Linked DNA regions of Homo sapiens: all the other regions are linked to region 1. The links are contacts of gene promoters, found by promoter capture Hi-C in blood cells and fetal thymus (Javierre and others, 2016). All regions are on one chromosome and are shown on one strand. Each heading gives the region's core, a stretch centred on a gene start or on the middle of the fragment in contact. The rest is flanking DNA. Distances are from core to core; before and after follow the strand shown. Region 1 holds the start of INPP1 (inositol polyphosphate-1-phosphatase). Region 2 overlaps PMS1 (PMS1 homolog 1, mismatch repair system component). Region 3 has its middle 58 kb from the start of GLS. Region 4 holds the start of LOC124907946 (a long non-coding RNA gene). Region 5 overlaps NAB1 (NGFI-A binding protein 1). Region 6 overlaps NEMP2-DT (NEMP2 divergent transcript). Region 7 has its middle 22 kb from the start of MSTN.

The links. Contacts are between HindIII fragments. The CHiCAGO score rates a contact against its expected background, and 5 or more counts as called.
Region 2: a contact is called between a fragment that was not itself captured here and the fragment with the promoter of INPP1 in region 1, in 1 of 17 cell types (M2 macrophages). The highest score is 6.3, in M2 macrophages.
Region 3: a contact is called between a fragment that was not itself captured here and the fragment with the promoter of INPP1 in region 1, in 1 of 17 cell types (activated CD4 T cells). The highest score is 5.6, in activated CD4 T cells.
Region 4: a contact is called between a fragment that was not itself captured here and the fragment with the promoter of INPP1 in region 1, in 1 of 17 cell types (endothelial precursors). The highest score is 5.2, in endothelial precursors.
Region 5: a fragment that was not itself captured here is called in contact with the fragment with the promoter of INPP1 in region 1 in 3 of 17 cell types (M0 macrophages, megakaryocytes and total B cells); the score reaches 5.7 in M0 macrophages.
Region 6: a fragment that was not itself captured here is called in contact with the fragment with the promoter of INPP1 in region 1 in 1 of 17 cell types (megakaryocytes); the score reaches 5.2 in megakaryocytes.
Region 7: a fragment that was not itself captured here is called in contact with the fragment with the promoter of INPP1 in region 1 in 5 of 17 cell types (megakaryocytes, naive B cells, total B cells and 2 more); the score reaches 6.2 in megakaryocytes.

Annotation. Positions count from the first base shown.
Region 1 is chr2:190,341,715-190,345,845 of GRCh38, forward strand. INPP1 (inositol polyphosphate-1-phosphatase) reads left to right here and starts at 1,875. Exons shown (of 7, transcript NM_001128928.2): 1 at 1,875-2,247. It overlaps LOC124906109 (serine/arginine repetitive matrix protein 1), which reads right to left and starts at 3,335. Exons shown (of 1, transcript XM_047446773.1): 1 at 1-3,335. The coding sequence starts at 2,602. The coding sequence ends at 1,724. RefSeq lists silencers at 1,861-2,170, 2,241-2,570. The HindIII fragment of the contact is 2,404 bases long and covers 1,132-3,535 here.
Region 2 is chr2:189,832,991-189,837,121 of GRCh38, forward strand. All of the region lies in intron 5 of PMS1 (PMS1 homolog 1, mismatch repair system component), which reads left to right. Among named protein-coding and RNA genes, the nearest start is that of PMS1, 51 kb to the left of the region's middle. The HindIII fragment of the contact is 2,100 bases long and covers 1,346-3,445 here.
Region 3 is chr2:190,821,035-190,825,165 of GRCh38, forward strand. No RefSeq gene overlaps it. Among named protein-coding and RNA genes, the nearest start is that of GLS, 58 kb to the right of the region's middle. The HindIII fragment of the contact is 2,144 bases long and covers 1,220-3,363 here.
Region 4 is chr2:190,756,978-190,761,108 of GRCh38, forward strand. It overlaps LOC124907946 (a long non-coding RNA gene), which reads right to left and starts at 3,524. Exons shown (of 2, transcript XR_007087780.1): 1 at 3,115-3,524. RefSeq lists an enhancer at 2,832-4,031. The HindIII fragment of the contact is 868 bases long and covers 1,972-2,839 here.
Region 5 is chr2:190,653,937-190,658,067 of GRCh38, forward strand. It overlaps NAB1 (NGFI-A binding protein 1), which reads left to right. Exons shown (of 10, transcript NM_005966.4): 3 at 2,041-2,217. Among named protein-coding and RNA genes, the nearest start is that of NAB1, 6.9 kb to the left of the region's middle. The HindIII fragment of the contact is 180 bases long and covers 2,326-2,505 here.
Region 6 is chr2:190,627,642-190,631,772 of GRCh38, forward strand. The region is part of intron 4 of NEMP2-DT (NEMP2 divergent transcript); the gene reads left to right. It also overlaps a transcript of NEMP2 not described here. Among named protein-coding and RNA genes, the nearest start is that of NAB1, 19 kb to the right of the region's middle. The HindIII fragment of the contact is 653 bases long and covers 1,844-2,496 here.
Region 7 is chr2:190,082,682-190,086,812 of GRCh38, forward strand. It overlaps a transcript of AKAP19 not described here. Among named protein-coding and RNA genes, the nearest start is that of MSTN, 22 kb to the left of the region's middle. The HindIII fragment of the contact is 958 bases long and covers 1,731-2,688 here.

The DNA.
Region 1 (4,131 bases), core at 625-3,124:
TTAGCTATTATTATAGCAGCAAGAGAATACTCTCCCAGGCAAAAGCAATAACATGTATAAAGGTGCAAATGTATGAAATCTGTTTGCATATTCAGGGAACTAGATGTGGTGTAGTAAAATGAGGTGTAATATTCAAGGGGCAGAGTTGACAGATGCGAGGGGTGATGGGTCTTGAATGAGTTGTTCAGGAACTTGCTCTTGATATTATCAGAGATTGGGAGCCAATGAAAGCTTTTAAGCAAGCAAGAAACCCTGCAGATGTGTGGTAGCAAAGTGGAAAATGGACTAGATTCCGCCAGGTGCAGTGGCTCACGCCTGGAATCCTAGCACTTTGGGAGGCTGAGCTGGGCGGATCCCCTGAGGTCAGGAGTTCGAGACCAGCCTGGCCAACATGGTGAAACCTCGTCTCTACTAAAAATACAAAATTAGCTGGGCATAGTGGCAGTCACTTGTAATCCCAGTTACTAGGGAGGCTGAGGTGGGAGAATCGCTTGAACGAAGGAGGCAGAGGTTGCAGTGAGCCAAGATCATGCCACTGCACTCCAGCCTGGGCGACAGAGTGAGACTCTATCTTAAAAATAAAAAAAAAAGAAAAGAAAAGAAAAGAAAAATGGACTAGATTTATATCCCTTGCTCCACCCTGTCTTCCCCAAATTTAAATTCCTGCTTCCTAGAGGCAAATTCTTTCACCTTCTATGTCTCTGGTATTTATCTCCTTACTTTTAAGAATCATGTTTAAATTGTTTCTTGATTTTGCCATCATAGATATGATTATGAGGCTAATTAAACAGTAATCCTAACCGCTCTGAGAATGGACCTAAGAAATGAATGTGAGAAAGAAAGTAGAAGCAGCCCACTTGCTAGTGAGTGAAAGCCAGGGAAGGGTGGGGGGATGCGGGGAGAAATTGTCTCAAGTTGGAGAACCCAGGTGCAGGCTGGGAGCAGTACCATGAATTCCATTCAAGAAGCCAAACGTTTTAAGCACCATTTCCTGGAGTTTGCCAAGTTGAGTATTGACCCAGCCTCCTGTCTTGTTGGTTCCTCACTGCTGAAGAAGACCAAGTGTTGACAACTCAGTGAGGCAGTCTCAGCTGGAGTGGAAAAATGTAGCTAAGAAAACGTGCCAGACAAAGCTTTAAGCAGAGCTTCCCAACTGGATGCCGTGAAACGAATGACAGGGATGCAGATACAGCATGGGTCTTCCCAGCCCTCCAAGTGCAAGGGCTTCTGCAGGAAGCCTTCTGCAGGAGCAGCCTCTTCTGTTTACCCCCATTTTGACCCTTGTAATATCATCCTTTCCTACCTGTGCCAAGAAGTGAAAAGGTGTGTGAAGCGCCGCTTTAGAAGGCCCAGTACATTCACAAACATCAGCTTCTGGGCGAGGCTGCTTGGCCTCTTCTATTCAAAACTTTGTGTTGCCCTTTTAAGGTTTCTATTCCCCCCACCCCCACCCCGCCCACCAACACCCATTCCTACCTAGGTTCAACCCAAACCATCCTTAAGGTACACTGAGTATCACAGCACCAAAGGCTGGAGAGAGATAAGTTCCCCACCCTTGATGCGCTTCCTGTCCAGGTGGCCCGAGGCCCACTCCTTAAGAGGCAAGGCCCAGAGACACTGCTGTGTCTTGAGGAACATCCAGTACACCTGACATTTCCATTAGAACAGTGGGACCCGGATACCACTGGCAGGAAGTCCATCTTCACAGCTGCCAACCCATCTGTCAAACCCGCAGTCCCCTATGAGAGTACAGATGAATGGAGGAGGAAGATTTAAAAGTGAATTCGTGGGCGGCGACAAGGAAACAGCAGCCGTGGCCAAGCTGACCCCAGAGCCCTTCCCTTCCTGGCCCTCCCTCTGAATCATCGCGCTCCACTTGTGACGTCGCGGACGCCCGGCTCGGGCAGGCGTGGGGGGCCCGCGCGTCCCGGGAGCCCCGAGGCGGCAGCGCGCGTTTCCACGCCGCGGTCCCGCGGGAAAGCCGGGGGCGGCGGCCTGGCTGAGGCCAAGCTCGGATCCGGTGCCGAGCCAAGCGGGGCCGTGCGTCGCCGGGGCTTCGCCTTCGCTCGCGTGACCTCCGCCGTCCTCCCCAACCCTCGTCCTCTGGCCGCGCCTGCGGCCGCACGCCCAGCGCCCCTCGCCTAACCTCGCGCCCGGGCCGCGCCTCCTCCTCCTCCTGCTCCCCGCCGCTTCCGTTTCTCGAGGGAAAGGCTGCTGCCTCCTGCTCTGTCCTCATCCCCGGCTTAGGTAACACGTTTTCCTCCTTACGACACCCACCACAGGGTCCCCGCGCCGCTGCCCCTCCTCCTTGGATCTGGGGCCCGGGCTGGTGAGCGGCGCGCGCCGTCGCCTCTCCGCGGGTAGGTGAGTCGATGGCGCCGGGAGGGTTCCTCGCCTCTGCGCGCCGGCCTGCGAGGTCCCTGCCCCGGCAGCGAGGCCGCCCCCGGCCGGGCCCGGCCAGGCATGCCCGGCATCGCCGCTGCAGCCAGCGCGGAGGGGAGCTCGTGAGTCCCGCGGCGCCCTTGGCCCTGCCCGAGCGGCCCGATGGGGTTGGGGGGCGGGAAGAAAGGGTGGCAAACAACGATTTTAAAAATCCAGTCATTAGTATTTGTAGGACGAAGAAGCTGATCTGACAGTTGTCCAGAGCAGTGGCCCAGCTGCAACAGGTAGATGGCGCAGCTGTCAGTGACCCCTTGGTCTCAGCCTTGGCTTTGAGAGATGCATCTGAGTGTCCCTAGCTGCCAGCTACCTCCAGTGACCTACTTGATGAGTGTGAAATAAATATGATGGGACTATATTTAGAAAAATCTTTACTTCCTTGCTGTTAATTCTCTCTGCATTTTGAAAGGTGGTTTTGTGAGGTGTGCATAATTAGTTGGTGTGTCCAGAGTGGTAGCTGGAAAAAAATATTTAACCTGGGTTTGGCCCTATCATGTAGACGGTTAGGCGCAAAGAGTGTGAAAGGAAACGCTTACTTTAGTACATCTGTGAAAAACACTTATAAGAAACCACGGCTTGTTTTTTGGAGATTTCTCATTTTAAAGGTATTTTTAAAGTGTTGAATAAGCAGAAGTTTGCCCACTGTATGATGGTGTTCACTTCAAAAGAACAGTGGGTTAAAAGTATGGACAGACCACTTAAGTGGATCCCATCTGTTGAGTAAAAGATTTTTTAGCCCTTTTACACTGATTCCTAGCTTTGAAGCCAGAAAAGTTGATAAGGATCAGCCCTGCTCAACTTGATAATAGTATAAGGATGAAAGTAATCCACTGAACTACTCTTGATTGGTGAATTAGCTAAGTGATCTCATTCTTACCTTTTAAAATAGAGAACATAAGGGAAAAAATAAAGGCAATGGAAGAATTCATTTTTTCAATACAGATATTTGTTTCCATTCTTATGTAGAGCCTACTTTATTTTTAAGTTTTTATGGATTTTTATACTACTTTTGAAGTCAGCTTAGTCATGAAGAGAATTATGTCAAATACATAGAGTTACACTGTACTTTTTGTGTAGAATAAGCTACCACTTTTCAAGCTTTTGGACTAAACCACCGCTTGCTTGGAAATTGCAGCTTTGACTAATGCCCTTTAAAATGATATACCTTATTATAGATTTAAATTATAGCTTTCCTTGTTATAGTCCTGAAAAAAATGAAAAGATAATTTCTTGTTTGACATAGAAGGCCTGTGAGACAAAAGTTATAAAGGTTATTATATATTTATTTTGCTTTTTAATTCTGTCTCTAATAACAGTTAGAAAATGTCTCATTCTATTTCATGTTATACAGAAATTGCTTAAAAGATAATTATGTTATATAAAGTGATCAATGAAAACAAACGTCATCTTCATTTTTTAAAGGTGAGGATGGTGTATATAAGCACTTTTTCCCGATGTGAGTCCTTATGAATGTTCTTGTTAAAATACTTTGAATCTTGTAATGAAGTTAATAAAACTATGTTAATGTGTTTGGCTGAGAGCTTAGAAATAAAGGCTCTGGCTGGCGTGGTGGCTCACGCCTGTTATCCCTGCACTTTGGGAGGCCAAGGCAGGTGGATCACTTGAGGTTAGGAGTTCGAGACCAGCCTGGCCAACATGGTGAAACCCCGTCTCTAGTAAAAATACAAAAAT
Region 2 (4,131 bases), core at 1,146-3,645, 510 kb before region 1:
CCTCTGCCAGCTTTGTTCTTGAAAACAGAATGTTACACATTTTAATGTGGTAAGTGGGCCAAGAGAGTTCTAAAAGGTACGTTTTTAAAATTCATCCCCAATGTCTAAAAACACACATTAACTTCTTTTTCTTCTTCCTTTTCTGTGTGAAATTTGAGTAAACTTACTGTTGATTTGCTTCTCATAGAATAGTGTTGACCTTTTCTCGTAGTTGCAGTGACCTATATTTAAGTTAAAGCTTGAGCTGGCTAGTATAAGAAACAAAATTTGCTTTCCATTAGTTATTTAAATATAGTTAATATAAGAAGTAAATTTATGGCCGGGTGCAGTGGCTCACACCTGTAATCCCAGCACTTTGTGAGGCCGAGGCAGGTGGATCATGAGGTCAAGAGACCATCCTGGCCAACATGGTGAAACCCCGTCTCTACTAAAAATACAAAAATTAACTGGGCATGGTGGCACGCGCCTGTAGTCCCAGCTACTCAGGAGGCTGAGGCAGGAGAATTACTTAAACCTGGGAGGCAGAGATTGCAGTGAGCTGAGATCACGCCATTGCACTCCAGCCTGGTGACAGAGTGAGACTGTCTCAAAAACAAAAAAGAAGTAAATTCATTTTCATTTGGGTAATTAAATATTTCATATATACCAACTGATACTTTTTCATTAGGCTTTGCTTATAAACTTTAAATGTTATAATGATATGATTATTTTTAAAAACCTGAACCCCCCCTACTTCCCTGCTGGAAGAAACCATACCTGTAGCAGCACTATGTGGGAGACTTGTCTTGATGGATGAGAATAATTCTTAATTAATCTTTTTTCCTTTATTTGTTATAGGAAGTGCTTTAGATCTTCAAGATTTTTACTTTTGAGGAAAAAATTATAGAACTTTCAGAGACCACCACAATCTTCCTTTCATCCTTAGGAAGAACTTACTTAACTACATATCAATAAAATAGACTCTGGAGCATAGTTTCCAGTTCTGACCTTACATATTGTCACTAACTGGCTTACATTACGTGTCTAGGCTTCAATTTCTTTGTCTCTTTAAAATGGAATAATAGTACCTACCTTACAGAGTAAGGTTTTTAAATGAGAGCATTCACAGCACAGCGCCTGCTCCATAAGTACTCAGTAGAGGTTAATTGCTATTGTTATTGATGTGAATATTGTTTAAAATCTGATTAGAGTCAAAAAGGATTATTAGAGGAAGTGGCCTTAAGACTGGTTCTTCGGAAAGACTATGTGGGCAGAGGTATTCAAAGCAGGGAGAACAGCATGTGCAATGTCAGGGAGTCATCAGAGGTCAGAGAAAGCTTGTCTAAGAAATGAGATGAGGCTACGAAGCTTGCTTGGAGCCAGATTCTGAAGGACCTTGTGTATCTTACATGGGAATGTGTACTTCTTGTTGAAGTGACCAAGAGGGAACTAAATGAGACATTTCAGTAGGAGACTAACAAAATAAGATAATTCTCATTGCAGTTGGAGGATGGACTAAATTATGTTTAATTGTTGTTAAGAATGTGGAAAATGATCTCGTTGTCTGGCAAGTTACACAAGGAATGGAGAAGAGGGTCTAGGCAAGAAAAATATTTCCGATGTAAATAAGATTTGATTACGAATTGGAAATAATCTTTCTTGTTTTTAAAGACTGCAAAGAAATGAGTCTCAACAATATCCCTTTGAAAGTTATGCAGAGATTAACTTTATACCTTTACATTTTTATTAATGTTTTATTCTATTTCATTTTATTTTTAGAGACAGGGTCTCACTCTGTTGCCCAGGCTTGAGTGCAGAGGCATGATCATAGCTCACTTCAGCCTCAAACTCGTGGGCTCAAGTGATCCTCCTACCTCAGCCTTCTGAGTAGCAAGGAACACAGGTGCATGCCACCATAACTGGCTAATTTTTTAATTTTTTGTAGAGACAGGGTCTCACTGTGTTGCCCAGGCTGGTCTTGAACTCCTGCCTCAGCCTCCCAAAGTGCTGGGATTACAGGCCTGAACCAACATGCCCAGCTTATTATTTAATTTTTTAAAAGATCATACCTTTACATGGTTGAAAACCCAAAAATGTATGAAAAGGTAGAATGAAAAAATTATTCTTTTCTTTATCTTTCATCTGCCTAGCTCCTATAAACTGCCCCTTCTTTAGGTAAAATGTCTATTAATTTCTTTGCAACCTTCAGGAAAAATAATTATGCATGTTCTCTTTCAAGAAAAGAATATAAAATTAAATAAGTGTAAGAGATTTTAGAACTCATTTATACTGCATAAATTTTACCAAGACAATCATTTTTGAAAGTTTGAGGCTGCTTAGCAATAATCAATTCATATTAATGTTTATTATGTCAGTAGAATGTGGTTTGTTCTTTTAACAGTAGTATTGATACTGTGATGGAATAATCTATAATTTTATACTGAATTCAAAACATTTAGCAGTGTCTTAGTGGTAAGCTGCTGTGGCTCATATTGTTCCTGTGTTGCCAATGTGGGAAATAAAACAACCTTTTAAATATTGTGTTTGTGCCTCTGTACTTTTTGGAGTCAGAGTCAGTGCAAGTACATACGCAGGAGTAAATAATAATAGATATAGATCTATTTATAGTAACTTGTAAGATCTTAGAAGTAAACTTATGGTACTTAAGAAATTTGCCTGGGTATGGTGGCTCACACCTGTAATCCCAGCACTTTGGGAGCCCAAGGTGGGAGGATCGCTTGAGTCCAGGAGTTCAAGACCAGCCTAAGCAACATGGTGAAACCCTTTCTCTTCAAAACGTACAAAAAAATTAGCTGGGCGTGGTAGTGTGCACCTGTAGTCCCAGCTAATCGGGAGGCTGAGGCAGGAGAATCCTTGAGTCCAGGAGGCTGAGGCTGCTGTCAACTATGATCACACCACTGTACTCTAGCCTGTCTCAAAAAAAAAAAAAAAAAAAAAATTCATTGGTGCTGCTTCTTGTTTGGTGGAAAAAAAAAAATCCAAATATGAGCTTAGTACATCTGTGCCTACAATTTGCAAGAATTTTGGCTGCAGTCTAGGCCAATAATATATCCTCTTTATTTAGAAGGAGTTGACTTTGCTCAAGCAGTTTTAGCATTGTACTATTCACTTAACTATGCATCATCTGTGTGCAGCCTACATTTCTCTTTATCACAAATTGCCTTTACAAACAATTGAGGTTTACTAATTAAATATCGAGTATTCTCATCTAACTTCATTTTCTTCAAGTAGCGTATGTCAGTGAGGTAGGAATTAGGGGCAAGATATATTTGGCTAACTTCAAACCTAAGATGGTGTGCATGTAATAATATATTTTTGAGGTGTTTTTGCACTGTCATCATACTGACTAGAGTCAGATTCTTAGTTGGCACATCCAGGTGCTCCAACTTTGTGTGACCTAGATAGAAAACATATGGAGGTTTGTGTGTATTTTTAGCACATGTTAAGCTTTCGGCCTAAGGGCAAGATTTACAAAAACCTTCAGGAAGTGAAAAGAAAATCTCTGTTTTTGAAAATAACATAGAATTGATGAAACGGTAGAGAAAGCAAACTGAATACTGTATTCTGGATTCCCAGTATTCCCAGTTCTTATTCATCACATTTTATAGTTTAGTTTTTTAGTGATGGGTCCTGTTTTGAAAATGAATCTTAGTTGCCCAATGAGAAGATTTTACTTGTTGGCAGACCGCTATTATTTATTGCTAGCCCAAGTGTAACTAGTTTAGAAAATGCTCTTAAATTAGCCCCTCGATCTGATGCAATAAAAATTGCCTAGTGTGAAATAATGCTCCCAGACTCCTAGCATGTTTACTTTAAAGTGAAATCACATTGCATAGTTCTCATGTTTCACAGCTTTTTCTAGGACCGATTTCCTGAAGTGATCTTTTTACGGTTGTGTATACTAACTATTCAGCAGGTCAGGCAGTGAAATAGCATCCTTGCATTAATCAGCAGCTAAGATTTATATCTGTATCTAAGGCATCTAATATAAACTAAAATAAACAAGATGATGTTTACATTAGTAACACTGCAGGCTTTTTAGCTATATTCAGTGCAGGAATTTTAAAACATTAGTTTTTTGAAATATTTCCTTGAATGCTTTATTTTAAAAATGTCAATATCAGAGAGTTA
Region 3 (4,131 bases), core at 1,042-3,541, 480 kb after region 1:
TCATTCTTTTGGCACTCATCAGATGTGACCGTATTTCATTTTGTGTGAAGTGCGGAGCTTGGGACTCTACGGGGCCTAGTGAGGTCACCAGAGTGATCCATCAGGTCAGCTGGCACCTTTGTCCTCTTTGCCTAGAAATCAGAGTGACTGGCTTCTCTCTGTCTCTCTTTTTTTTTTTTCTAACCTTCCTTCCTCTTTCATTTCAGTCTGCACCAGGCATGGGGATATAGGAATATGAAAAGACAAAACTCCTGCTTTATAATCACTTATTGCAGAGATTCCGATCTGCTCTGAGGATTCAGTTAAAAGAGTTTTGTCTTCCTCCCCACATCCACGTGTCCAAATCCTATCTTACCTTCAGTGCTGTCTCAAATGGGACCATCAGCCAGAAACTTTTCTTTCTCACCTGTGTTCTCCTCCGCTGAACAACCATGGTCACTAGTTGTATTACTCTTCTATCATCGCCTACTATGTGTCATATTTTTTAAAGCTCATTTCCCTGGGCAGACTGTGAGCCGTCTGGGGACAAGATTAATCTTCATATCCTCATATTGCCTACCATATTGATTTCTGCTTAAAGAAATACCTGCTGCTTAAAGAATACCTGCTGAATGATTGAGTTCATTCAGACATTAAACATGGGTGGGTAACATATTCCTTTGGTAGACTATATCTTTAGTGCTGCACCTTGCTGATTCTTAACAGTCTTTGAATGAAAGGCACCAGGTGAAAATGTCTGCTACAATTGGTGTGTAGTAATTTCAATGCAAACAAATATCTAGCACTTTGGATTCACCTTCTGAAATCAGGTCAGTTCTGAAGCTCTGGGCCCCTGAGTAGGGATAGATAACTCAAACCAGGAGTGTTCAGGCTAGTGTTACATGCATTCTGCTAGAAATCAATACTTAGTAGGGAAAGCTTCCCAACACATAATGATGATAATAATGTTCAATTACAAGACATTCCTTAAAGTCACTCACTCCTCACAGAGCTTTATTTTTCTCTGTATTTTGCAGAGAACAATGTTTCAGTTAATAGAACAAATTTAGCATTATGCTTCACCAGTTCTCCTAAAGTATTCTCCAATACTTAAGCTCTTTTCATTAAAGACAAATTTGAACGATATTACCCTGCTGTGGTTAAGGATTTTGCTAAGCCAGGAATGGGAAGTGTATTGTATTCTGTTTCATAGTTTACTCTTTGATGAACAAGACTGAGAAGCTTAGTGTTTAAATTTCCTGGGCTCTGTGCCTTGTTGCCTGGATTCACATCCTGATCCAGTGCCTTTCCAGCTTTATACTCTTCATAATCTAGGTAGCCTTTCTGTCTCAGTGTTCTCATCTTTGTGTAGCTAAAGCTCTTAGAACAGTGCCTTGGGCATAGTAAACATGTGAGTTACAGTTAAGGTATACGAGTAGGACAATAAGAACTTGAATCCCTTCTCTTCAAATTTGAGGAATGCTCAGATGAAACAATCTCATTTTAAGGTAAGTAACTTCTGGTAAGGCCTTTTTCTGACCTATGAACAAGGCTACCTGGCCTAAGGCTTGAAAGCTATTTTAGCCATTGGAAATATTATCACTGGTATCTCTCCTTACTTCCTTTTAACTCTTTATGACACCTCTTTCCAAAGTGCCATGCTTCCTCAGAGTCAAATTTCTATCCAGAAGGAACAGAACTGCAGTGTCATATAACAGATTTGTAAACCTAGGTGACAGATCAGATCACCTCCCTCATCTCCTGTGACTCCCATTCAGAGGTGAAAAGTTAAATTGCAGCTATTCTTTGATCAGAAATGCCCATATGGCTTAAGTGGAATTAGCAGGATCTTTTAATATTCCAACCATTCACTCTATGTATTTGGCATATAAAGAGAAGCAAATTGATGGAGATATTAACTAACTTCTAACTTCTAAAAAGATTAAAAGAAAGAGGTTTAGCCAAGACGGGTTGGACATGGAAGTAATAGATGCCAATTGGGAGGTCTATCTTACCTTTGTAGGCACAAGAGAGAAAAAGGGTCCCTGATTTCTAGGGGTGGCTGTTTTCCAAGGATGTCTGACAGTGTTTCTTTCTTTTTTTTTTTTTTTTTTTTTTTTTTTGAGACGGAGTCTCATTCTGTCACCCAGGCTGGAGTGCAATGGCCTAGTCTCAGCTCACTGCAACCTCTGCCTCCTGGGTTCAAGCGATTCTCCCGCCTTCAACCTCTTGAGTAGCTGAGACTACAGGTGCGTGCCACCACACCCAGCTAATTTTTGTATTTTTAGTAGAGACAGGGTTTCACTATGTTGGCCAGGCTGGTCTCGAACTCCTGACCTCGCGATCCACCTACCTCGGTCTCCCAAAGTGCTGGGATTACAGACGTGAACCACCGTGCCTGGCTGGACCTGACAGTGTTTCTTGACTGTGTGGCATGCTCCTCTAAAATGCCAATTTCCAAGGCCTACCCACCCAACTAGAATTTGAGGGAGTGAGACCTAGTATATCTGTTTCTAAGATGTTCCCTTAGGTGATTCTAACATCCCCCAGTTCTCCTGCTGGCTCATTTATCAGAATGATGACCAGCATACAAAGGTGCTAGTTGCAACAATTTGGAACAAGAGGAGATCATAGAGATTACCTAGGGTGCCTACTTCTATTCACACACAAGATGAAGAGTCTATAGAAGTCAAAGAATTGCCGGGTGCGGTGGCTCATGCCTGTAATCCCAGCACTTTGGGAGGCCAAGGCAGGCAGATCACGAGGTCAGGAGTTCAAGAACAGCCTGACCAACATGGTGAAACCCCATCTCTACTAAAAGTACAAAAAAAATTAGCCGGGCATGGTGGTGTGCACCTGTAATCCCAGCTACTCAGGAGGCTGAGGCAGGAGAATTGCTTGAACCTGGGAGGCGGAGGTTGCAGTGAGCCGAGATTGCGCCACTGCACTCCAGCCTCAGTGACAGAGTGAGACTGTCTCAAAAAAAAAAAAAAAAGTCAAAGAATTGGCCCAGTGTTACTCACATTGGATAATGTTAGCACTTCTCAGGGATGCCAAAAACTAAAAAAATTGCTCATTCACAAAATGTGTTTGAGGTGCAAATTGTTTCTTTTGCCAACATACGTAGCATTTTCAAAAATATCAAGGCAAGGTAATTCCTTGCTATTAATATGGTGTGAGGTAGGAGTCCAATTTCTTTCTTTTGCATTTGGATATCTAGTTGTTTCCATGCCATTTGTTGAAAAGTCTGTTCTTTCCTCCATTGGATTGTCTTGGTATGCTTGTCAAAAATGAATTGACCATGTAAGGGTTTATTTCTGGGCTCTCACTTCTATTCCACTGATCCATATTTCTATCCTTGTGCCACACTGTCTTGATTACTGAAGCTTTGTGGTATGTTTTGAAATCAAGAAGTGTGACTCCTCCAACTTTGTTCTTTTTTTTTTTTTGATGGAGTTTTCGCTCTTGTTGCCCAGCCTGGAGTGCAATGGCGCAATCTTGGCTCACTGCAACCTCCCTCCACCTCATGGGTTCAAGTGATTTTCCTGCCTCAGCCTCCCAAGTAGCTGGGATTACAGGCATGTGCCACCACACCTGGCTAATTTTTGTATTTAGTAGAGATGGGGTTTCACCATGTTGGTCTGGTTGGTCTCGAACTCCTGACCTCAGGTGATCCACCCACCTCAGCCTCCCAAAGTGCTGAAATTACAGGCATGAGCCACCATGCCTGATCCCAACTTTGTTCTTCTTAAGATTGCTTTGGCTATTCTGGGTCTCTTGAATTTCTGAATTTTAGGACAAGCTTGTCAATGTAGGCAAAAAAACCAGTTGGGATATTAATAAGAATTGCATTGAATCTGTAGAAAATTTGGAGAGTTTTGCCATTTTAACAACAATAAGTCTTCTGATCCATTAAAGTGGAGTGTCTTTACATTTATTTGGATCTTTAGTTTCTTTCAACAATATTTTGTTGTTTTCTGTGTACACGCCATACACTTAATTTTGTTAAATTTATACCTAAGTATTTTATTGTTATTGATGAAATTGTAATGAAATCGTTTCCTTAATTTTATTTTCACATCGTTCATGGCTAGTGTATAAAAATACAACTGATTTTTGTATATTGATCTTGTATCCTGCAACCCTACTAAA
Region 4 (4,131 bases), core at 1,156-3,655, 420 kb after region 1:
GTTTCAGCTATTCCTCTTGGTCTCCCCTGCTAACATAGCTTTTACCCCACAGTACAAGGAATCACTGCAGAGATTCTACCAGCTACCAAGGATATCTATTCCAATTACACATCAGGAAACCAGAGAAATGACCCTTTCCTACTTTCTTTTTCTCCATAGCACTTGTCACTATCTAACCTATGTTACACTATTCATTTTATTTATTATTTGTCTCCTCAATGAATATAATCTCTATAAGGGAAGGCAGTTTTGTCTTTCCCTAACTGATTTTTTCCCCATGATTACAAATTACCTAACACATCATTGCCATTTTATAGTTCTAGCACATAGCAAGTGTGCAATAAATATTTGCTGAATGAAAGAATGAATATGAATGTTGCTGTCATTGAATAATAATATGAATGTTGTTATTATTGTTCTAATTGTCCCTAAGATTTTTCCGCCTCTCTCAGCAAATGTGAATCCAAGTGTGAAACATTCACTCTGGGGCAAATTAGGGAAAGGTTTCCACAAAGGATCACAGATTGCCATTGCACTTCAAGTCTTTCATGGTGCACAGCACGTATGTTGAAGAGGTAGAAGGCAGATCAGGAGGGGCACCACTTCAAGGTTCTCAGCACCTTTTATATCTCTCTCTTCCCCCAATGTGGATTAAAGTACACATATTTAATCTCCTAAATTTTTCACTGGTAATTATTGGTGTTTTGGGATCACACACACACACACACACACACACCCGCCAAGGACATACATTAATTCTGAAAGACACTATGGTTTAAATCATAGATAGCAACTAGTTTGGCCTCCTAGAATCAAATTGCTTATTTTTAAAGCATTTGAATTAGTCATAAAATATTTAAATACTTTCAGGCTTCTTGTGAAAAAATAGAAAGATCTGGCTATTACCATTTTTACTAGTTCCTAGAAGTGAATGCTCACTTTTGGATGGGCATGTGCTTTCCATTTTATTACAGTCCTCACCACTCATTGTTGTCTCCTTCACACTGAGGCTGAATGACAGCTGCCATTCATCAATGTATGGCTGAGACCATTTTTCTTACAGTTAAGAAGAAAGTGATACCATTTTTATGTGTAAGTCCTTTTCAAAGTTGGAAAAATAAAATATAGACAAAGAGGAACATATATTTTAAGAAAAATGGAAAAAGAGTGTTTTGAGGATGTAAGGGGGAGCAAAGATCATGCCAAAGCATTTAATATATAATATGCAAATGAAGTATGACTGGGTCCATAGAGTGCAATTCAAGGAGTCAGGACCTTGAGTTTGCAATTCTTGCTCTAACCTAATAAAAATAAATAAGTCATATAGTCTACTTACCTCATAATTTGCATGGTACTTCTTTCCCTTTTTAGGGAAAGATTACAGATTTTTTAATCTGTAATTCTCATTATTATGTAAAGCACTTTAGTTTCTTTTCTTCATATTAACTTCTTCCCCCCAACACACATATAGACCCATTCACCTCCCAAATTTTGCCCTTTGGGAATAGAAATACAGAACTCTGTATTTCTCTGCTGTGGTTTGGATGTTTGTACCCCTAAACATCACATTGAAATTTAAGCCCCAATGTTGGAAGGGGGGCAAGGTTTGGGTCACAGGGGTGTATCCCTCATGAATGGCTTGGTGCCTTCTCTTGGTAATGAGTGAGTTCTCGCTCTATTCAAAGAGCCTGGCACCTCCTCAAACCCCCCTTCCTTCTCTGGCCATGGGAGCTCTGCACAAGCTAGACTTCCCTTCTTCCACCAGGAGTCAAAGCCACCTGAAGTTTTCACCAAGAGCAGATGCTGGTGCCATGCTTCTTGTACATCCTGCAGAATCATGTGTCGAATAAACGTCTTTTCTTTATAAATTACCCAGCCTCAGGTACTCCTTTATAGCAATCCAAATGGACCAAGATAGACTCATTGCTAGTTCTATGCTTTATAACTCGAGTCCTTATTTATACAAAGAAAAGCTTTGCAATTCTGGCTCAGAAAAGATTTAATTAAAATCTTAGCTAAGGATCCTCATTCTCTTTACTTTCAATATGGAGAAAAGAAAGAGAAGTATTTATTTTTCCAGTAGCTTTCAGTTGATAATTTTAGGATTTAATAGCTAAATTATAATAGCACAAGTAAAATTTTATGTTGGTAATTTAATTTCTGGGATACCCTTAGCTAATAAATACACTTGGTGATTAGAAAAATGGAACATCAGGCTGGGCGCAGTGGCTCATGCCTGTAATCCCAGCACTTTGGGAGGCCGAGGCGGGCGTATCACCTGAGGTCGGGAGTTCAAGACCAGCCTGGCCAACATGGTGAAACCCCATCTCTACTAAAAATACAAAAATTAGCTGAGCCTGGTGGCACGCACCTGTAATCCCAGCTATTTGGGAAGCTGAGGCAGAATTGCTCAGCTTCTGAGCAATTTGAGAGAGAATTGCTTGAATCTGGGAGGCAGAGGTTGCAGCGAGCTGAGGTCACGTCACTGCACTCCAGCCTGGGTGACAGAGGAAAACTCCATCTCAAAAAAAAAAAAAAAAAAAGAAAAGAAAAAAAAAAAGAAAAATGTAACATCAGGTAGAATTATCCAAGTGTTTTTGTTTTTATTTTTATTTTTATTTTTTTTTAAGGCCAAACACAAATCCATCACAATTCTGGCACTTACTTTAAATGATAGGGTATTGGGCCGTATTTGTCAATCTCTTGTAAAGAAACCAGGGTGTTTTTATATTTACCTGAATATGTCTTTCTACCTCCACCACCTTTTCCATATTCATTCATGTAAATTATAAAAGTAAGGCAGTTACTGAGCCCAATATTCACTGATAACAAAGCAGGAAGCTTATGGGTATGAATCAGAGTGTGGATGACTCATTAAAAGCCAAATGTTTGTACGGAAAGCTCCCCTAAAATGGCACAAAAGCAAATATTTATAAACATGTTAAGAAAGCATTGTGGAACTCTTGGGAGGAGGGGTTAAAATATTGCCACACATTCCTAATTACACTATTACAATAAAACATTGCTTTGCTACCATGAAGTCTGACCCAGGCTCTAAACTCTTTAGCAATGGGGTTGCTCTAATTAGCTATAATAAGACTGATCCTGACTCACAGTGTGTCCGGAATTGGTGGGTTCTTGGTCTCACTGACTTCAAGAATGAAGCCACGGATCCTCGCGGTGAGTGTTACAGTTGGCGCGTCTGGAGTTTGTTCCTTCTGGTGTTCGGATGTGTTCGGAGTTTCTTTCTTCTGGTGGGTTCGTGGTCTCGCTGGCTCAGGAGTGAAGCTGCAGACCTTCGCGGTGAGTGTTACAGCTCTTAAGGCGGTGCGTCTGGAGTTGTTCGTTCCTCCCGGTGGGCTGGTGGCCTCGCTGGCTTCAGGATTGAAGCTGCAGACCTTCCCGGTGAGTGTTACAGCTCATAAAAGCAGTGTGGACTCAAAGAGTGAGCAGTAGCAAGATTTACCACAAAGAGCGAAAGAACAAATCTCCCACAACATGGAAACGGACGCAAGCTGGTTGCCACTACTAGCTCAGGCAGCCTGGTTTTATTCTCTTATCTGGCCCCACCCACTTCCTGCTGATTGGTAGAGCCCAGTGGTCTGTTTTGACAGGGCGCTGATTGGTGCCTTTACAATCCCTGAGCTAGACAGAAAGGTTCTCTAAGTCCACACCAGATTAGCTAGATACAGAGTGTGGACACAAAGGTTCTCCAAGGCCTCACCAGAGTAGCTAGATACAGAGTGTCGATTGGTGCATTCACAAACCCTAAGCTAGACACAGGGTGCTGATTGGTGTTTTTACAAACCTTGAGCTAGATACAGAGTGCTGATTGGTGTATTTACAATCCCTGAGCTAGACATAAAGGTTCTCCACGTCCCCACCAGACTCAGGAGCCCAGATGGCTTCACCTCGTGGATCCCGCACCGGGGCTGCAGATAGATGGAGCTGCCTGCCAGTCCCGCGTTGTTCGCCCGCACTCCTCAGCCCTTGGGTGGTCGATGGGACTGGGCGCCATGGAGCAGGGGGTGGCGCTCGTCAAGGAGGCTCGGGCCGCACAGGAGCCCACGGAGGGGGTCGGAGGCTCAGGCATGGCGGGCTGCAGGTCCCGAGCCCTGCCCCGCGGGAAGG
Region 5 (4,131 bases), core at 1,166-3,665, 310 kb after region 1:
TGAAAAGGATTGTAGGTAAAGTAACAGGATGCCCTGTTATTGGATTGGCAATTCATTGAGATACTGGTTTACACAGAAGGCCTCCCCTTTGGAATATGAAAGGTTGCTGATCAGATTCTGACTCAGACATTGGGTTTCATTGCACAGCAACCTTTCCAGAGATGTTATTCATCATTGAAACTTTGCTAGGAATAAATGGGGATAAAAGAGTAATGAAACCTAATTCCTACCCTTGGGGTGCTTATAACCTAACAGTGACTTGTTCTGCAGAGCCAGGCAGGTTGCCTTCCTTGTGCCATGACTCCTTCACAGCTGCACAGCATTTACCACATTGTTTAAGTCTCTGCTTCTTGTCTCTCCTTGCTCTTAACTGACTCTCCATGAAGGACTGTCTTTCCTCTGTTCCCCAGAACTGGCTTAGTTGTTGGTGTTATTTGAATAAGTTCAAAATGTAAGAGAGACAAAGTGTTGCGGGGTTCAGAGAAGGGAGATGACAGCTGCAGCCAGGGGTAGTGGGAAAGACATTTTGGGAAAGGCTGTGAAGGTTGGAGGGAGAGAGGATGCCTGGCACAGGGGCAGGGAAGTGGAAGGCATATTTGAGGAATGCCTAGTGTATCTGCTTGGCACAAGTATATGGGCATGTTAAGGAACAGAGAGAAGGCTGGAAAGATAGGCTTGGGTCTGGGATGCCTATATGAGTAGTTTGGATTTCTTTCTCTGCACTGGTGGAGAAGTTCGCAAATCTGTAAACTTGGCATTGCAGTGTGGGATCTATTGAAGGTGAAGGAGCTTTTTTCAAAATTGGGGCAAGAAGCAATGAACACTAGAATTTGGTGCTTTTGAGGCAGAGAAAGAAGTGGTGGTGTAGCCTAAGGACATGTAGATTTGAGGAAGAAAGAAGAAAAAGCAAAAATGGAATCCAAACTTACTTAAATCCGGGAAACTGAAAGACCAATGGTGCAACTGAAAGAACTAAGAGAGTTGGAAAGAGTAGACTTGGGAATCTGGAAGAAGGGCAGAAAATGAGAGAATGTACTTGATTTTGGACACATCAAATTTGAGGTTTTGACAATGCCCAGGTGGAATGCCAAATTACAGTTCAGAAGAACAGTTTGGGCTGATGGTTCTGAACTTTTCAGGTGTGAGGATAGCTTTTTAAATAAAAACTTGCAAATATTTATGACTACTTTTAGTATTTGTTTTTTGAGAATACATGTAAAGACAAAACAAAAATTCAGCTATACTGTTAAGTGAGTTTTACTGAATAACAGAAGTGTCTATTTACCTTCATTTGCAAAGTAGACGTGTGTGAGAGGCATCTTTTTCACTCAGCAGTTGGTGCTTTGTGTGTATTTGGATTTGAGAACACTTGGAGTGACTCCATGGCTCTTGTCCAAGCTACAAATACAGATTTGGAGGTCATCTGCCTATAGTGATAATTAAAGCCTGGGAATGGGTGAGATCATCAAAAGAAAATTATGGACACACAATAGAAAAGAGATGTAATATAAAAATTTGGAGAATTCTTAGAATATAATAGGTGAAAGAAGGAAAAACAAATAATATAGCATTACCAAAGTAAGGTGAAGAGCATCTCAAGGAGTGATACCATGCAGCAGACAGATTAATGAGAGAGAGGCCCAGAGTTTTGATAGAATGGTGAGCCCAGAAAACAAGCTGGCCTGAGTCAGGTTTGAAGGAATGGTTCTTCTTTTCTCTAGTGACAATTAAAGCCCTCTGTCCTATCAAAAAATCCTCACATCCCAGCTTGGAGACTGTCAGGGAAATTTTGTTTTCCATAGCGAAACAGGAGTTGACCGGTAGTTTTGTGGGCCAGACTAGCTCCCTGCTTCACTTAGCACAGTTGGAATCTGGCAGGTGACTGATGCTACCCTGTAAGGAGCCAAAGTGAATTTTAAAAAAAGTTTTGGAACAAATGATTACCGTTTAAAAGATCAGTGAATAACAACAACAAATGGTCTTAAATTAATGCATTGTTTAATTCCTCTTCCCCTAACATCATTGGGATTCTTTTTATAGGACTGAGCAGGGGGAGGAACATTTAAGCTGATGGAAGTGGAAGTGGAAGTTGCTGTACATTGGCAGCAAGGCCTCCGAGTTAGCTTTTGAATGCAGTTAACTGGTTTCTCTTAACTGTGGAATTCATTGAAAAGTCAGACTCCGAGTGGTCGTTCCAGGATATCTTGAAAAGCCCAGGTAACAGTAGTTTTCAGCTGAGTGGATTTACAATACTCTAAGCTACCTGTATATAACGTGTTAAGGACCCATTTTATATTTACTTCAGATTGGAGAGAGGCAGGTAGAAGCTTTCTTTTGACTTATTTGACCTTCATGTTGAATCATTAATGGTTATAGATTTTATGAAAACAGAAAATCTTGTAAAAGTTTTCTTTCAAATCACATCAAGTTCATGTATGAAGGGGTGGGTGTTTAAATTATCACAGCCGGCTTTGGAAGGAAACTGAAACATTCTCTTAAAGCAAAAGCTTAGGAGGAGAACTCCTTTTCCAGTAGTAAGTGTGGGCCTCTAGAAAGCCTCCAGGGACCGAATTGGTTACTTAGTTATGTTGCATCTGTTATCTTGGCTTTGCAAATGTAGACTTGGTCCTATCAGTCTTTATGGAGATATTATATTCATAACTACTTTCTTACCCATGCAGAGGGCTTTCTCTTAAGAACTAGGGGGTTTCATTTTTTTTTTAAGTGGGTAAAGATGAGAAAGGATAAAACTTGAAAATTATTTTCTAAAATCATTGCCTTATCTCAGAAGAATAAAATATAAGCTTGAGTCTTTTAGTTCTTAAGTTTCTCTTTTGTATTTGTCTAACATATATTTTTTCTTATTGCTCATAAAAAGATTTAAAAGTATTTTTCCAGATTTCCTCATGTAATCTCTGCTCTATTCCATAATGTGAGGAGCACATATGCTGAGTTAATTGATCACCCTGTAAACCTTGCAAAGTTACAGTCCTCTTATTAAAAAAAGATAGTGTGTGTACTACTGAGAAGCCCCATGTCTTGGAGCTTCTGTGTCTTCCACAGTCTATTTTGATCATGTGTATGTATATACACATTACACATGTACTTTTTTTTTCTGTATTGCGTTGAAAGCCTATGGAGGAATTGCACGAGGTGTATGATAGGAAAGTAAATGTCCTTTCTTCCACCTCCAACACTTTATAGCAGCCCTTCTATTTGGTATAGTGTAGTTTAATATAGCTCTAAACTTGGGTCTGTAACTCCTGAGAGCTCTGTTTTTGTGAGTTAGTGCCCAGGTGGATGATAGATTCTCCCTGGAGTGGGAGGACAGGCAGAGCCTCCTTTAGGTGATTTAGAAGATGCAAGAACGTTTTTATCCAGAGGACTGAGGTGGCATGAATGTGAAGGTTGACCTAAAGAATTACCTGGGTCATCACAGTACCTGTAGGAGTTTGTGGTGCCCGGAGGATTTATTAAGTAGGAATCTTGTGCAGTGTGTCATATTTGCCTAATCATGGAAGTCTCCTGAGATGCATCTCAGGCACCTGGGAAACTGTATTTTTCAAAAGCACCCCAGGTGATTTCCTGGGTTTTAGTAGAAGCTACTGGGCCCTAATTCAGCCTTTGTTGTCTTTTGGGAAGTCATCAGGTAACCTGGTTATGCCCATACTAGCCCTTGCAAAGAAAGAGACATAAAATTTGCGGAAGTCAAAACAGATGTGGATGACACAGAGGTTCCAGGAGATGGGACTTCCGGTAGTCAGTGCTTAGAGTGGTAGGGACACCCATTCTCCTGGCTTGGAGTGACTGAGACTAGAATTTTGTGTAGCATTCTGATTGGTGGCATAAAACAAAAGTCCCAAGTTCAGTGACTTCTTGGCTTTCAGGGACGTCCCAGTTAACTATTGCTGCATACTGTCAGAGTTGAGAGTGGGTCTTCCATTTTTCTCTGATGCACATATTCTTTTAGCCTTCTGTTATTTTCTCCATAGAGGGCTACAGGGTACTTTTAATCCTAAGGGTGCATTTGATTACAACAAGTTTATTTGTTTCTCTTAAATGGAAGTACTTGGCCAACTCCTCTTTGTATGTGGGAGGTCTCCAGGCAACTGTGAACAACTTTTAAAGGCT
Region 6 (4,131 bases), core at 920-3,419, 290 kb after region 1:
TCCATTAGTTACCAGTGTTGACTCTATTCTTTTTATTGCCAATATTCCTGCAGAAAACTTAGAGATGACCTATTTGTCCTTGATTTTTGCTTCCAAAGATGTGCCACCAAAGAATAGGAATTTCTTATAGAATGCATATGCTTTAGGGGCATCTGTCTCTAACTTTACAAAAATAAAATAATAAAGTTATGTGTTTTCTTCACACATTTGAAAGCCAGAAATAGATTCAAACGTACATTTTTCTATCCGTGTGCCAAGCTAATAAGCTGAGCGCAACAGACTGCATCGCGCAGGCCACCGCGGCTCCGCCCTCGCACTGCGCTCTTCCTCCTCCCGCGCCTACCGCGTCCCTCCTCCCACTGGGAACTGGCCGGCCAGCAGCCCCCCGCAGTCCCTCCAGCTGCTCCCCTGGCAGCTGCACACTTGCCTCTGGGTCTGTCGTGCCTCTTTGTGTTCCTGGGCATCATTAAAATAATAGAATCGCAGCGTTTAGAGCCGAGTGACTTTGGACTGGCTCCTCTGACACCACTGAATTTCTGCAGATCATTTACTCCATTTTAGACTCTTAACACTTCACCATCTGGAAGGTCTTGGGGAGGGCACTGGGACCAGCGAAATGTCTGCTGCATCATGTGGGGCACTTTTAGTGACCTCCCCTTGAAGCAGACGTCAATGGGAAGTGTTCTAGGTGCCCACAGAGAGGGGTCTGATGGAGGACGCCTGTTACTGCTTCTTCACCCTCAAAGGAAGGAAACCTTTTAGACTTCTGAGGAGGTAGAACTCAACAGTATACATGCTCTTAACTAGCAATATTTATGGTACACGTTCTTCCTTTATAAAATCAGTTCTGCAATGCCTGCTACTCCAGTCTCTGTTATCTCAGGAACTCTTGAGTGAAGACTATCCCCTGACCTAAGCTGGGCCCATCAGAATCTCTCTGGGGAGTTCGGAACTGGAACAGAAATGCTCATCTCTCTCCTGGTTTCTCCAACAGGAAAGATGTGCATGGGGAGCTGGGGATGGGCAGTGTTTGGGGCTGTGTACCTTGAGGTAGTGAAAACAGATCTGCTGATCCTGCAGGCAGTGAAAGAGAGAGAGAAAGAAAAATAAATCTACAGTGAGAAAAATAGACATGAGAAAAAGCCAGCTTCCCGGCTTCCCAGAAGCTTCCTGGCTCTTGGTTCTAGTCCCCCAGGAGATTGTGCTACTTCCTCGCCTGGCCTGAAGTTAGTTTCTCTTCCATGCAACAAAAATCCTCTCCTCAGATGTTGACTCCATAAGGCTTCTGACCACAAAGCACAATCATAATTCTTTCATTGAGTTTAACTATCCAAAATCTCAAGAATCTCAAACTCAATTAAGAACCCAGAATTAGACAGATGACATATCCAAATAGTGAAAGCTATGTTTTTGGTCCAGAATTGTGCAGAGCGTCAGTCCTAGCTGCGCCTGGCCCTGCTCACTAACTCCTCCTCAAAAAACAATTCATCAGATTTATCTTGCAGCTGCTATATGCTCTGCACCAGGTCAAATGCTGAAGTTTTGGAAGCCATCATGACACAGCCCGATTCCCATGAGCTTTCAATTTAGTAGGGAACTTAGACAAGTAAAACACATTACACAAGCGGTCTTTAAAAAGTTCATTGAAATACGTATTATGAAAAAACTATGCATAGATGTCAAAAATTTTTTGCACCAAAATAAACTTGTACTAACTTGTTATAACATGTCTGAAAAGGATCTAGTTCGAGGCACTAAGATATCAGTTTGTAAGGAGTCCCTTATCAGAGCAACGTGAATTCTGCTAAAATTGAAGCAAGAACAAACATTAAATTTTTGGTGAAGCTTGGTTGGAAGAATGATGAAATCATTAACTTTTAATGAAAAGTTTATTGGGACAATGCCCCCCAAAACTAAGCAGTTTATAAATAGAATAATTCATTTTAAGAAGAGGTGAGACAATGTTAAAGCTGAAGCCTAGAGCAGCAGACCATCCACGTCAATTTGTGAGTTAAAACTCATCTTGTTTGAGCCCTAATTGAAAAGGACCAATGATTAACAGCAGAAACAATAGCCAACACCATAGACATCTCAGTTGGTTCCACTTACACAATTCTGACTGAAAAATTAAAGTTGAGCAAATTCTCCACTTGATGCGTGTCAAAACCGTTGTGCCCAGATCAGCTGCAGACAAAAGGAGAGCTTTTGACGGAAATTTTAAAACAAGTGGGATCAACAATTTCAGAGCATTTCTTCAAAGAACTGTAACAGGAAATAAAACATGGCTTCGCCAGTACAATCCTAAAGACAAAACACAATCACAGCAATAGCTACCAAGAGGGGGATGTGCTTCAGTCAAAGCACAAGCAGACCATCAAGAACCAAGGTCGTGGTGAAGGATTTTTTCGGATGCTCAAGGCACTTTGCTTGTTGACTTTCTGGAGGGCCAAAGAACAGTAACATTTGCTTATTATGAGCATGTTTTGAGAAAGCCAAAGCTTTAGCAGAAAAATGCCCAGGAAAGCTTCACCAAAGAGTTCTCCACCACAACAATGCTCCTGCTCATTCATTCCTCTCATCAGACAAGGGCAATTTTTGTTTTTGTTTTTAAGATGGAGTCTCGCTCTGTTGCCCAGAGCAATCTCGTCTCACTGCAACTTCTGCCTCCTGGGTTCAAGCCATTCTCTTGCCTCAGCCTCCCGAGTAGCTGGGATTACAGGCCAGCACCACCACGCCCAGCTAATTTTTGTATTTTTAGTAGAGACGGGGTTTCACCATGTTGGCCAGGCTAGCCTCAAACTCCTGACCTTGTGATCTGCCCACCTCAGCCTCCCAAAGTGCTGGGATTACACCCTGCCCTGCCAGACAAGGGCAATACTTTGAGTTTTGATGTGAAATGATTAGGCATCCACCTTACAGTCCTGATACGGCTCCTTCTGACTTTTTGTTTCCTAAAAAAATCCTTAAATCTTTTTTTTTCAGTTAATAATGTGAAAAAGACTACATTGACCTGGTTAATTTCATAGAACCCTCAGTTCTTTAGGGATGGACTAAATGGCTATTATCACTTATAAAAATGTCTTGAACCTGTTGGAGTTTATGTTGAGAAATGAAGTTTATATACTTTATTTTTATCTTTTAATTCCGTTTTTTCATGAACCTTTTGAACTAGTAACAGAATTTTCTAATTTAACTTCACTCAGTTTAAATCTCAGTGTTGTTCGAGAAATCATAATATTGGCCAGGTACAGTGGCTCATGTCTGTAGTCGTAGTGCTTTGGGAGGCTGAGGCAGGAGGATTGCTTGAGGCCAGGAGTTTGGGACCAGCCTGGCCAACATAGTGAGACCCTGTTTCTAATTAAAAAAAAAAAAAGATCTGAGTCACACAGCAGAAAAACAAATATAAAAAATGATAATACTACTTTGCAGATTTTATCTGTTTAATATTTCAACAGGCCAAGCGTATCAGCTACAAAAATCTCAAGAATTGTAAAGATATGACCAACTTAAATTATTTGAAGATGTTGTATGAGACTTGCAGAGTTCTAGATGGGGAAGAAACTGTTTCCAAGATGCTTACATATCCAACCAAAGGAAATAGATTAGAAAACAGCAGGATGATCACACAACATAGCTTCACTTTGCTGGTTGTGTGGAATGGGCCTTACAGGACACCATCAACTTTGCTACAATCGTGTTGCATTTTTATTTAGGCTCTCAGTGTTGACAGTACAGCAAAGCCCTTTTGGTCAAGGAAACAAACCTTAGACATTGTCAGAGACCAGTTACAAGATCAAGTGGTTTTATAAGATCAATGTAAAAAAAACTTTATATTAATATTTTACTACTTTTATTTTGAATATGTACCAAAGAGCATATGTTATATTTTAAAGCTAATTTGGTAATTTAGAATAAGACTTATAAAAGCAACTTCTTTCAGATTATATATTAACACATGTTGATTGCAGAATATTTGGATAATATAGATCAATACTGTATAACCTAATCCACAAAACCACTTTATTGTTATAGTCATGACTTTTATTTTTGTAATTAATTTCTCAAATCCTCACTTACCCTATCAGGAGACAGTCCAATATAGACTTTCCCCAAATTGTCCAAAGATACCAT
Region 7 (4,131 bases), core at 960-3,459, 260 kb before region 1:
CAATTCTTTAAAATAGGAATTATTCTAACCATTATACAAATTAGGAAGCTAAGGCACAGAACGTTTAACTTATCAAAGACTAAACATGGTAGAAATGGGATTTGGAGCCAGGTATATCCAATTCTAAACCCACTTTCTCTCCACTATAGCAGTTTTCCAGTATTAATGCTACCATTTATTGTGTTTCTACTTGTTCCAAATGTAATGTGAGATGCTCAAATACATTCTCCCTGATCCTTATAAAACTTAACACTTTTTAAATTGACAAGTAAAAATTGTATATATTTATGGTAGACAACATGATGTTTTGATATATGCATACATTATGGAATGGCTAAACCAGGCTATTTAACATATGTATTATCTCACATATTTATTTTTTGTGCATGGTGAAACACTTAAAATCTACTCTCTTGGCAGGGTGCGGTGGCACACCCCTGTAATCCCAGCACTTTGGGAGGCCAAGGCGGGTGGATCACTTGAGCTCAGGAGTTTGAGACAAGCCTGGGCAATATGGCAAAACCCCGTCTCTACTAAAAATACAAAAATTAGCCAGGTGTGGTGGTGTGCACCTGTAGTCCCAACTATTTGGGAGGCTGAAGTGGGAGGATCGATGCCTGGGAGGTGGAGGCTGCAGTGAGCCGAGATCGTGCTACTCTCCAAGCTGGGCGACAGAGATCCTGTCTCAAAATAAAATTTTAAAAATCTACTCTCTTGTCAACCTAAAGGAAGAAGCTGAGGCACTAAATATAATTTTAATGAGTTTACTTGAGCCAAGATGAGGACAGCTGCCCAGAAGACTCAGACCTGATAACCTTGTATAAGAGTTCCATTTGACCTTTGTGAAAAGTAGGTTTTTATAGGCAAAAAAGGAAGACGGTGGGCTGATACAAAGTTGTTTTTCAGGAATTCCCATTGGTTTACAGAAATGACATTGATTAGTGATTAGCTATACATTGTTGAACTCTAGGGCGTGAGTTATGGTGTCCATCATGCAACATTGTTAGGTTAACTTACAGCTATTTGCAGCGACAGTCAGTCTAGAGTCCACATAGCAAGAAGCTTCAAGAGGTGATGAGCTCAAGCAGGGAAAGTGGGATGTCACTGCTGCCTTACTCCCATGCCTCTTTGGGCCTGATAATTTAGAGGAGGCTTACATTCCTCAGAGAAGGTTTCTTTTCTTTCTCACTCTTAAAACAATTAAGTACCTTGCTTGTTGAAGTCACACAGCGAGCAAGTTACGGATCTTGACTTCAAGCCTAGGTTTGAGACTCCGAAGCCTATTTTCTTTATAATATATTATACCAGAGCTTCTGAACCTTGGGCATACATTAGAGTCAAATGGTTAAATTTGCACAAAGCCCTACCCCCAGAGAGTCTAATTTAATTGGTCTGGAGTAGAGCTCAGGTTTTTTTTTTTTTTTTTTCTGAGACAGAGTCTGGCTCTGTTGCCCAGGCTAGAGTGCAGTGGCATGGTCTCTGCTCACTGCAACCTCTGCCTCCTGGGCTCAAGGAATTCTTCTGCCTCAGCCTCCCACGTACCTGGGATTACAGGCGCCCACCACCATGCCTGGCTAATTTTTGTACTTTTAGTAGAGACAGGGTTTTACCATGTTGGCCAGGCTGGTTTCGAATTCCTCACCTCAAGTGATCCACCCACCTCAGCCTCCCAAAGTGCTGGGATTACAGGCATGAGCCACCTTGCCCAGCTAGAGCTCAGTTAATTTTAAAGCTTCTGGGTGATTTTAATGTGTTGGCTGGTTTGAGACCACTGATGGGAAGTATAGTTTATCTATCATGATAAATTGGTGGAAAATGCCCCTTATTGACTATTTTTTTGAGGCTGTATTATATAACTCTTTAATGTATTCACGTAGTCAAAAAACACAATAAAATTCCTTTAATCAGATTACAGTCTACAGACTAAACAACTGAGATTCAGTCATTTAATTAACTGACATCCCTTCTTCTAACCCACTTGTCGACTATTTTTAAGGTGATTGTATTTTCCCAGAAAGTACTGAAAAACATACAGGAAGGGACACGGGAGTACGATAACCTAACTTTCAACCTTGGCTTTGATATTTTCTTGCTAAATGGACTTTGACAAGTTACTTAACATTCTGTAAAATATTGATTATGAAAGAAGTAAAAGGTATTCTTGAAAAGGGTTTTATCTGGGGACAGATGGAGGGAATGCTGCCTCTGGTGGCCTCCTGTTGGGGTCAGATGCATATAGTGCATTGAAAAGGCCATGGGAAAACTTTTCTAGTTTTCCTAGTCAGCCTGGCTGTAAAGCCCATCTTCTACTTTCTGCCCCTGCTGCCAACCATTTCCCAAACCACCCTTCTCTTTACACCTAGTCAGGGGTGATTCCTTCATTGCCAGACCACATGGCATTATTGGGAAGTGGCCAGGAGAGGAGGACTCCCTTTTAACCATAGATGCCAGGGTAGGGAATATGTGCTTGAGGGGAGGGAAAGGAAATGGATATTTTCAATCTCATATTAGATTAGACATGAAATATATTTTACCATAGGAACAATCTCTGGATGGTAATTAGGTTTCCTGGTTATTCAATTAAAGCCTATTCATAATTTTGCCAGATATTTACAATATTTTATATGCAAATAACAGTGTATTTCAGTAACATTTTGGGTTCAATAGGCCTTGAAGAATTAGTGTGAAAGCTTAACTGTCATTTTTAACACCGCTTCTGTGAGAAATACGAGATCAGTACTTAGCACTCCAAGAAATAGTTTCTCTCGTCTCTAATTCAGCTTAACAAATATAGCGTTCACTGATCATCTAGTGAAGAGGGAATGAGGCAGCTGAAAGAATCCCATTTCCTCTCTGAAGTTTAGCAGAACTCTTTTAGCTACTGATTATAAGATCACAACGTACTTGAGGCCATGGGCCATTTCTTTCCTTCATTTGTGTTCCCCTTCCCCCTGAACAACTTATCACATAGTATGAGCACGTTGTAGATGTTAATGTATACATAGATTAGATTTGAAATTGGTAATGACCTCACTGTCAATGGAAAATAGGACACTGATCATCCATACCATACAGTGACAAAACATTTCTTAAATGATCAGCTTTTGTTGCTGGTAACCAGGTGCCTCTCAGCAGCAAGGCTTAAGAGATGAAGTAACTGGTGCAATAAAATATTATAGTGGAAATTATGAGCACGAAGGCCATGGGAAAGGTTCTGCTTGCACTAGAAACTACCTAAAAGACTGTCTTGTTTCTTGTACCAGTGGGGCTGAAATAGCCAAAAAACAAACCTAAATTTGCTTCTACAGCTTTCAGCATTACAGTGCAGCCTTTCTAGGCATAGGTTAGTAGAGTGGGATCCTGTGAATGGAAATATTTGGGTAGGTTCTAATGAATCCAACTACAAATCCTTCACTTGTGTTTCCCTTCCTCCAAAGAAATCTATCACATAGTATAAGCACATTGCGGATGTTAACATACACATAGATTAGACTTGAAATCAGTAATGGCCTCACTATCAATGGAAAATAGGATACTGATAATTTGTACAATGTAATGACAAAACATTCCTTAAAATATCACCAATTGTTGCCTGAATTAACAAACTCCACTGAGTCTTAGTTGTTAGTAGGAGCAGTCCTCCTCTTCCATCTGATAACCTGTAATAATTTCACCTGAGGTGGTTTATTTGCAGGAAGATGACGAATCTCCTAAATGTTAATTCTCACTACTTATCACTTCCAGACCCTGACCTATTCCATAATTAGGTTCAAATCCTCAAAGACCTCAAGGAAGATGGGGAAAGAGAAACATTAGAAAATATGCACGATGGTTGCAGTCTACACAATTTATGAGGCCATAGTAGGTATTTGTAACTCCCTCTTCCACTTCCCTTCCCATGCTCCCTTTGCTCAGTTATCATTTTAGCTAGGTGTTATTATTTATCAGTCAGAGTGACCTGAACCTTCATTCCTGAAATATCTGAACCATTGTGGTTCTTGCTTGGCTTGGTTTGCTCTAATCTTGTAAATTTTACCATGGATATGGAAGGAATTGCTCAGATATGGATATGAAAGGAGTTGCTCAGAGAATGTCTTGCCTTTGAGACATGGTCTTCCCTCTGTTTTGTAG